Regions from separate parts of the Homo sapiens genome. Here regions 1 and 2 are each linked to region 3. The links are contacts of gene promoters, found by promoter capture Hi-C in human tissues and cell types (Jung and others, 2019). All regions are on one chromosome and are shown on one strand. The core of a region is centred on a gene start or on the middle of the fragment in contact, and the rest is flanking DNA. Distances in the headings are between cores, read along the strand shown.

What was found. Contacts are between HindIII fragments. The study calls those that stand out against the background at their distance.
Region 1: a fragment that was not itself captured here is called in contact with the fragment with the promoter of AADACL3 in region 3 in 1 of the 25 tissues and cell types used here (thymus).
Region 2: a fragment that was not itself captured here is called in contact with the fragment with the promoter of AADACL3 in region 3 in 1 of the 25 tissues and cell types used here (thymus).

Annotation. Positions count from the first base shown.
Region 1 is chr1:12,660,589-12,663,288 of GRCh38, reverse strand. It overlaps AADACL4 (arylacetamide deacetylase like 4), which reads right to left. Exons shown (of 4, transcript NM_001013630.2): 3 at 1,435-1,498. Among named protein-coding and RNA genes, the nearest start is that of AADACL4, 18 kb to the right of the region's middle. The HindIII fragment of the contact is 4,685 bases long and covers 1-2,700 here.
Region 2 is chr1:12,756,051-12,758,750 of GRCh38, reverse strand. The region is part of intron 2 of CFAP107 (cilia and flagella associated protein 107); the gene reads right to left. Among named protein-coding and RNA genes, the nearest start is that of CFAP107, 11 kb to the right of the region's middle. The HindIII fragment of the contact is 5,337 bases long and covers 1-2,700 here.
Region 3 is chr1:12,714,703-12,717,402 of GRCh38, reverse strand. It overlaps AADACL3 (arylacetamide deacetylase like 3), which reads right to left and starts at 1,293. Exons shown (of 4, transcript NM_001103170.3): 1 at 1,059-1,293. The coding sequence starts at 1,226. RefSeq lists an enhancer at 619-1,818. The HindIII fragment of the contact is 8,121 bases long and covers 1-2,700 here.

The DNA.
Region 1 (2,700 bases), core at 162-2,661, 54 kb after region 3:
TGTTTAAGCTGCCCCATCTATGGTAATTTGTTACAGCAGCCCAAACTAAGAAACTCACCCAGAGGTGAAGGCTTCGCAGAACCAAAGGTCAAAAGACCCATCTTCTCCAAGAGTTCGGGTAGGGAGTCCCATCCAGGCCTTAGACATCTCCCTTCCTTCAGTGTCTCTCAGGGAGTCTCCTCTCAGCTACTGTCTCCCTGCAGCCTCCTGGAAGCCCTTATCTGTGCATGCAGCTCCATGAGCCACTCTATCAAAACTGCCCTGGCCCGTGCACCAGGTCTAAGTATCTGGGATAATGGCATCCTAAGCAATTTCCTACAAGGTATTAATGCAGGTGCTTATTGATACCTTTATGTGCTACCTGTTCAAGGGATGTTTTTATTATCACAAAGGGCTTTGGTGACATAGACTGTAATGGTGGAATTTCAGACACAATGGTAAGCCACCTGGGAGGTATGTTGATGAATACTAGAAAGTGCTGGCTTCCTCAATCTCATCAGAGAGGACCAGAGATGTTAAGTGACTTTGTTTAAGTCACACAGCTATTCTGTCTACCAAAGCCTAGGGGCAGCTAAGGTTTGAGGAGGTCCATTGTAGAGGTAGAATCTAAAAAGGCAGATTTTAATTTCTCTCGCTGGCCTTCTCTAAACTCTTTCCCAGTGATGTGAGATCTCTTGAGCCAAGAACCAGAATCCTAGTGAGTAGCCCCTACTGCCCCCTCCATCCACTCTAAAGATGCCTCCATCTCCCTTTTGTTTTTATAGGACCAGGGTTGTATCTTAAGACACTCTCAACACTAGTTCCTGTAGGACCAGAAGCTTAGTTAGTTTTTAACAATGCAATAAGCACCTGCAGAACCATCACCCCAAACAACAGCCAGAATCTTGCGCATCACCTTCACCAACCCCACCATCATGCCATTTTGCTTCTCCTCCAACTTAATGAATGGTTACCCTGAATCCTGTATCTATCATTTTTTTCTTTCTATGTTACATTGTCTTGTTACGTCTATGTGTTTTCCTCGAAAGTATTCTTTTGGTTTTAACGTTTTTACCTTTGCAAAATGAGTATCAGGCTTTATGTAATTTTTTGAACATTTTTCACTTAGTTTTATACTACTAAGATTCATTTGCAACATGGTACACCTTTCTAGTTCATTTATTTAAATGGCTGTGGAAAAATCCATAATATCTTCTTGGCTATGTAATCTAACAGTTGCTGTGCTGAGGTTTATTCATGCACGCCCCCGTTCATGGACATGTGGGTTGCTTTCAGGTTTTTGCTCTTTCGAGCACTGCTGCGCCTGTCTCTGTGGATGCATGTCCAAGAGTTGCCTCTTGGGAGTTAGGGCCTCTCTGATCTACAAATCACCCATGAACTTACCCTATCTCCTCTCACCCCTGTGGAACCTACCAGCTGTCTCCAGAAACTCACCCAATCATCAGAAGTACAGATTCAGTCTCCCGGGCCAGATAATTGCACAGGCCATGGTAACAATCTGCAAGACAAAAACACTCAGAGCAGCAGCGCATGAGTAGGACCCAAACCATCTCACCACAGCCCCCAGGAAGAGCCAGCTGACAGTCTTGGTGTGGGGTGTGGCATCCTCTCTGTTTCTATCCTTGCCTCCTCTGCCTGGACAGAGCCAAAAAACCAGGCCAAATCATACATCTGTCCCCAGCCTCCTGAATTTTGGGACTCAAATTCACCTTGGGGCTCACTTTCTGCAACATTTATTTTACAGTGGAGGAAACCAGGAACCTGGAAATCTTAGTGATCTGAAATGGAAAAAAACCAAGGGAAGTTAGGCATGCCTGCCCTAGGATGTTAATAATAACTATAAATTTATATTGATCAAGAAATAAACAAGGGTTGGACGGGATGTTTCTATGAGTAGAGTGGTGCATATGAAGTTCTCAGAGGCAGGTCCGTCAATATGAGTACGTAGAACATACTAGCACAGTGGCAGACACAGAATCACTGCCAAATACACTTCTAATGCAGTCATTCTCAACTTCAGCCATACATAGAGGTACCAGGGAGTTTTTACAAGTCCTCAGGCCCAGGCTAAACCTCAAACCAATTAAATCAGAATCTCTAGCATGGAAGCTCAGGCATCAGGATTTTCTAAATCACACCAGGTAATTCCAGGGTTTGGAGGAGGTTGCTGAAGTGGGTGCATGCCTCATTAATGCTCTTTGAGGGAGATGACAATGGTTCTGAATGGAGCCAGAGGCACAGAGGGGTCTAAATTGAGTCGGAGCAGTCAGCCCCTAAGTTGAAGTTTCCATACTAGTAGGTCTCAGCCCTGGCTGCACATTGCAGTCATCTGATGAGCTGTTTAAAAATACTGATGCCCTGGTTCATGCCTGTAATCCCAGCACTTTGGGAGGCCGAGGTGGGTGGATCACGAGGTCAGGAGTTTGAGACCAACCTGGCCAGTATGGTGAAACCCCGTCTCTACTAAAAATACAAAAATTAGCCGGGCATGGTGGCACATGCCTGTAGTCCCAGCTACTCAGGAGGCTGAGGCAGAAGAATTGCTTGAACCCGGGAGGCGGAGGTTGCAGTGAGCCGAGATCATGCCACTGCACTCCAGCCTGGGTGACAGAGCAAGACTCCATCTCAAAAAAAAAATGCTGATGCCTGGGTCCTGCCCACTTAGCCTGGGGTATGATCTGGGTATGAATATGACTTTAA
Region 2 (2,700 bases), core at 127-2,626, 41 kb before region 3:
TGAGAAGAAAGCCATGTTCTCCTTACTCTGGGATGTTTGCCTGAATCAGTGCTTTTCCTAAGAAAATCCTCTTGGGCCCAGAAGGGAATCCTGGGGATCTGCACTGACTTACAAGGGGGCATAATGTTGATTTCCATGCTTGCCCTCTTGTCTGGAGCAGACAGGGAGGCCTGTGTCTGCTATGGTCTGGAAATGCCGGCTGCACCCAATATTTCAAGTGGTGGCCCCATAAATAAGTCAGATCACAATGCCAGAGGAAGACAAGGGGGGTGGGCACAGACATTAAGCAGGATTCCCAAGATCCACATCACCAGGTACCCCATAGTGTATTTCTAATGCCAAAGTGACTTGGAGGGTTTCCCATCAACAAAGGGAATTGCAGAAGCAGCCTCGTGGCATGGGAGGTAGAGAGGCCAGGAGGAATTTTCTTGCAGTTTCTCTTGATTTGGGGTGTGTCTTTACTGTATGCCTGGGATTTTTCCTTATTAGGGTTTGGGAAAGTGACAGCCACAGAGACAGCTACCTTTGAAAGGAGAGCTTGTTACTTACAGTTCTCAAGAGGAAGGGCACGCCATGCCCTGCAGGGCCACATCAGGAAGAACCAGCATTGGTCTCTGGTCGGGAGGCAGAAGGAACAAGGTGGAGGGGCAGGGCCCAGAGCCTTTACTGTGGTTTCCATGGGAACCATTGGGCGAGGCACGGTGGACAAGTTTAGGACTGGATAGTGTGAATAGTTTTTGTGGGCTCTGGGCCCTAGGGGAGGTCTCTAGTGTCCACTACTTGGCCCTGGGGTGATTTAAGGCAGAGGAAATATTGGCTTGGTATGTGAGAATTAGATAAAGGAGGCGGTTGGGGATACGGGCTTTGGAGTCATTTTTGCCTAACAAGGAAGAGCAAAGTGGGAGTGGGAGATGGAGGAGGAAGCTGTCCTAGGAGAAGGAGGGCAACATGAAGCAAACAGAAGAGCTGACAGAGTTGAAGCAGCTGTGTGGAAGCAGGGTTATGTTCAGGGCCCCATCCCACAAGCAGGCAATTTGAACAGAAACCTTAAAAATAAATATTCAGGGCCAGGTGCCGTGGCTCACGCCTGTAATCCCAGCAGTTTGAGAGGCCAAGGTGGGCAGATTACTTGAGACCAGGAGTTCAGGACTAGCCTGACCAACATGGCAAAACCCTATCTCTACTAAAAATACAAAAAAAATTAGCCAGCTGTGTTGGCACACACCTGTAATCCCAGCTACTTGGAAGGCTGAGGCAAGGAGAATTGTTCCAACCCAGGAGGCTGAGGTTTCAGTGAGCCAACATCACACCACTGCACTCTAGCCTGGGGGACAGAGAGAGACTCTATCTCAAAAAAAAAGAAAAGAAAAAAAGGAAAAAAAAGAAAAAGAAAGAAAAGAAAAGAGAAAAGAAAAGAAAAGAAAAAAAGAAATGAATATTCCATCGTCTGTTCTGTTGGAGATGACAATGCGGGGGGGTGGTGGGTGGAGTTCTTAATTTTAACCAGACTGTATGTTAAACTCTTAGTCAGAGCTTGTAATGGGTCCAAAGGCTATCTAAATGTTCTGCAATGCACTGAAAACTAGGGTCAATACCTCACATACATGGATGGTTAGAGGCTGAGAGCCCCAGATCCTGGGTTCTAACTTTGACTTGTTTATGTTAAAATTCATTTGTGTCTTTAATGCGCACTGCTGGTGAAGCTCAGCAGCCCCAGAGCATCAGCTTGCTTGGAGATGTCAGTGTGGTCTGAGGATGAGGGAGTCATCTGGGGTTGCCAGCACAGAGCTGAAAATCTGTTGCTGCTTATCCTGACATGGATCCCTAAATGCAGAATGCAAATAGGCGACTCTGGCAGATGAGGAATGGAATCTGAGGACACTCTTTGCCTGATTTGCAGAGCAGCAACTTGCTTCATCCCTAACAACAAGCCACACAGCTTTGAAAAAGCCACTTCACACCTCGGGCCGCTGAGCTGAATGAATCTCTTGGGTCCCTCCAAGCACTAAAATGCCCCAATTCCAAAAGATGTCCACTACCTTAATCCATGTCTGTCTGCTGCCACCCTGAGTTGAAGCAGGTATAGTAGGGTCAGGTGGGGTGGGAGTGGGGAGACAGAAATCGCTTATAAGAGCAGCAGGCTGGCAAAAGAAACAACTCAAGGGAACTCCCAGAGTGTGGTGGGGACAGAGCACAGCTGCACACCCAGTGGGTGAGCACCTACAAGCTTGCTCTCCCCAGGCTGTGCCTGCTGGGAGCTACCCACAGGGGTTATTGCAGGAGACGGCTTTCCCTGCTGTTCCTGGAAGGGCCAGGATCTCAGCCTCTGGCACACCAAGTTAATAATTGTCTCCTACATACTCACTAGTGGGATTGCTAAAGATAATAATAGTCTCAAATGCCCCTCCTTGGGTGTGGAGGGCATGTTCTGAGGTTGCAATGCCCTGCTCTCTGCTTCCAACACCTGGAACACCATGATTCCTAGACAAGTGCCCAGTCAATACGGTGTGTGGATGGTGCTTGACTTTTCATGCGAAAGAACAGGAAGCTGGAGCACAGATAATACACAACACTGTTTGTCCAAATACATCACTGCCAGCTGCTTTTGCAGTGCCTTATGTGATTCCTGACTATATGCATCATTTACCTTTGGTTGCTATTTCTTGCATTCTTTGCCTATATTCTGTTGGAAGAGTGTGA
Region 3 (2,700 bases), core at 44-2,543:
CTGTGAAGTAGGAGCAATTTTCCCTACTTTGCAAAAGAGGAAATCGAGTCACTGTATTTGGGAGCCTGGACTACAGAATCTGAGCATCAAGGGTAGGAAAACCTAGGACCCAATCACTGCATCTTATAAAAGCTGACTGGAGATCAGAAGCCTAGAGTTCCCGGGATCTTCTCTTTTAGGTAATAGCTACATTCTTTTGAATAGCATAGAAATTATTTTGAATAGCATAGAAGACACACCTAGGGTGTCTCTTGAGAAGAGGCACTGGCAATTGCTTTTCGTTATGTAAGAAACTTACAAAAAATATTTTGTATATTCAGTTTCTGTCAAGGCACAAGAAAAAGTACAAGAAATCCGTATTGGCAACACCTACACAGTTCCATTTACAGGTATTTTAACAAATTACACCAGAAGCAGAACCAAACTATATTCCCTAGGCAGCTTTCTAGCTCTCAAAAGCAACAACATATTTTTAAAGTCACATTCTGTAATTTTGCTCACCGGCACTAATCTACTCATCCGCTACCCTTTTACTTTGTGGCTTGCTGGCTCTAGCTAACAGGTAGATAGCAGTGGGGGCCCAGAGACTCAGGAAAATTCATTCATATCTTCACAACTTCTGAGAGTGGTGAGTGCTGTGAATAATATGGACACATTTATGGACACGTGAAAGGTACACTTAAAAATGCGAAAGATGGTAAATTTTATATGCATATTTTACCTCAATTTTAAAAATAAAACAAACCAACAACAACAAAAAGAAAGTCAGCGGGAGACACTCAGGTGAATAGAACCAGACTGGTTTTTTCTTTCTGTTAACTGAGAAAGCAGATCATTCTTTGAATTTTGTGAATATTAGCCAGGGCCAGCTTCAGAAACACCCAAAGAGGCTGAGAACCACCTAATAGGGATTATGCACATTTCAGAAGGTCTGATCAGCTGTCACTGCAGGCCCCATGATACCGGTGTTCATTCAGCTAGAAGCTTCCGGTGTGTGATTTTTCCTGCCGCCTTCCTTAATGGTCAGCTGGAGGGGACACATAAAGCACAAAACTCACCCAAGTCAACAGCAGCTGGAAGATGCAATGGAGGACTCTCAGTTTCACAGGGTGGCCAACCGCTGCAGGGATGTGCACAGTGAAAAAATGGCTGCAAATGACCCACAGAGTGACCCCTAGTGAGAACACGCAGGCTGCTGCGAGGAAGATCAGGGCCAGGTCCCACATGCTGCTTCCAGCTCAGAGCGGGCTGAGAGGAAGCTGTGCGCAGTGTAAACCATTTAGGACATGGTTCAGAGCCAGCAGACCTCCTCCACTTATAAGTCACACCTGTCCTCCCCCACCTCCCTGGGTCCCACAAACACTGGCCCAGCCCAGGTGAGTCACAGGCTCAGGTGAGGATGTGGTTCTAGGACAGGGCCCATGCAGAGAAGAAAGTGGCCCATCCAGCCGGATCCAGCCACAAAAGAAAGTTCTAGAGTCCCAGCTTACAATCTGGCACTGCTAACTAGAAATAGTCTTGGATAAGCCACCAAGTCACAATGGACATCATAAACACGATTCCTCCCACCGGCCCTCGGACCTCATCCCCCCACTCTGTGATTCAACTCCAGCTTATCATCCATCCATCAGCCTGTGGAGGATGTCCCAGAGCTGTTGTACGGCAAGCCATTCTCTGTACACCATTCTTCCCCTAGACCTCGGCTAGACTCCATGCCTCCCCTCTTGCTGGTCTCTGCTCAAATGTTGCCTTCTCAGTGAGGCCATCCCTGGCAATCTTATTTAAAATTTAACTCCCGCCAGCATGCCTACGCCCACCTTCCCCAGCCCCACCTTCCCCATCCCCCACCCTTTCCACCCCCCCACCTTCCACATCCCCCACCTTCCTCATCCTCCACCTTCCCCATCCCCCATCTTCCCCATCCCCCACCTTCCTCACCCCCCCACTGCTTGGTTTTTCCCTGTGACCTTTATCATCACCTGCCTCACTTGTCTGTTTATTGTCTGGGAGGACAGGAATTTTCTTTTTGTGCCATTTTATCACCAGAGGCTGGATTGGGGCTTGGTACTTTGTAGGTGCTCAGCAAATGCCTATGGAGTGAGAGAATGAATAGACAGGCTTTGTCCTCTTTCTTGCAAATCTGGGAAACTGTGCTTGCTTTCCTCTTTCTTGCAAATCTGGGAAACTGTGCTTGCTTGCCTTTCCAGGTCAGGTCAGAGGTTGATGTCACCATTGGAAATCTTCCCTAACAACCAAGTCCCACATCTGCAGTAACAATAGTAATATCTGCTGTGTCTCCCGCCTCCCAGCTTGAGTGAGAGAGCAGTGGTTCTCAGACAGGAGAGATTTTACCTCCCAGAAGATATGGGAATATCAGAAACATTTTTGTTGTCCCCACTCAGGAAGGGCCAGAGGGCTGGTTCTAGAGTGTCATAGACAAGAGGCCAGGGATATTGCCAAACATCCTGCAATGCACAAAGACTTATGCAGTCCAGCAAGCCGATAGTATGGTGGTTGAGAAACCCTGCATTTGCAACACTTGAATTTGAATCCTGGCTCTGCCAAATGCCAGCATGCTGATCATGAGCACGTTATGTGCAATCAGCCTCAGTTTCCAAGTTTGTCAAATGGGGATAATAATAGTACTCCCCACTCCATAGGACTGTTGGCTGCCTCAAGAACACCAGCCTGTGTCAAGCA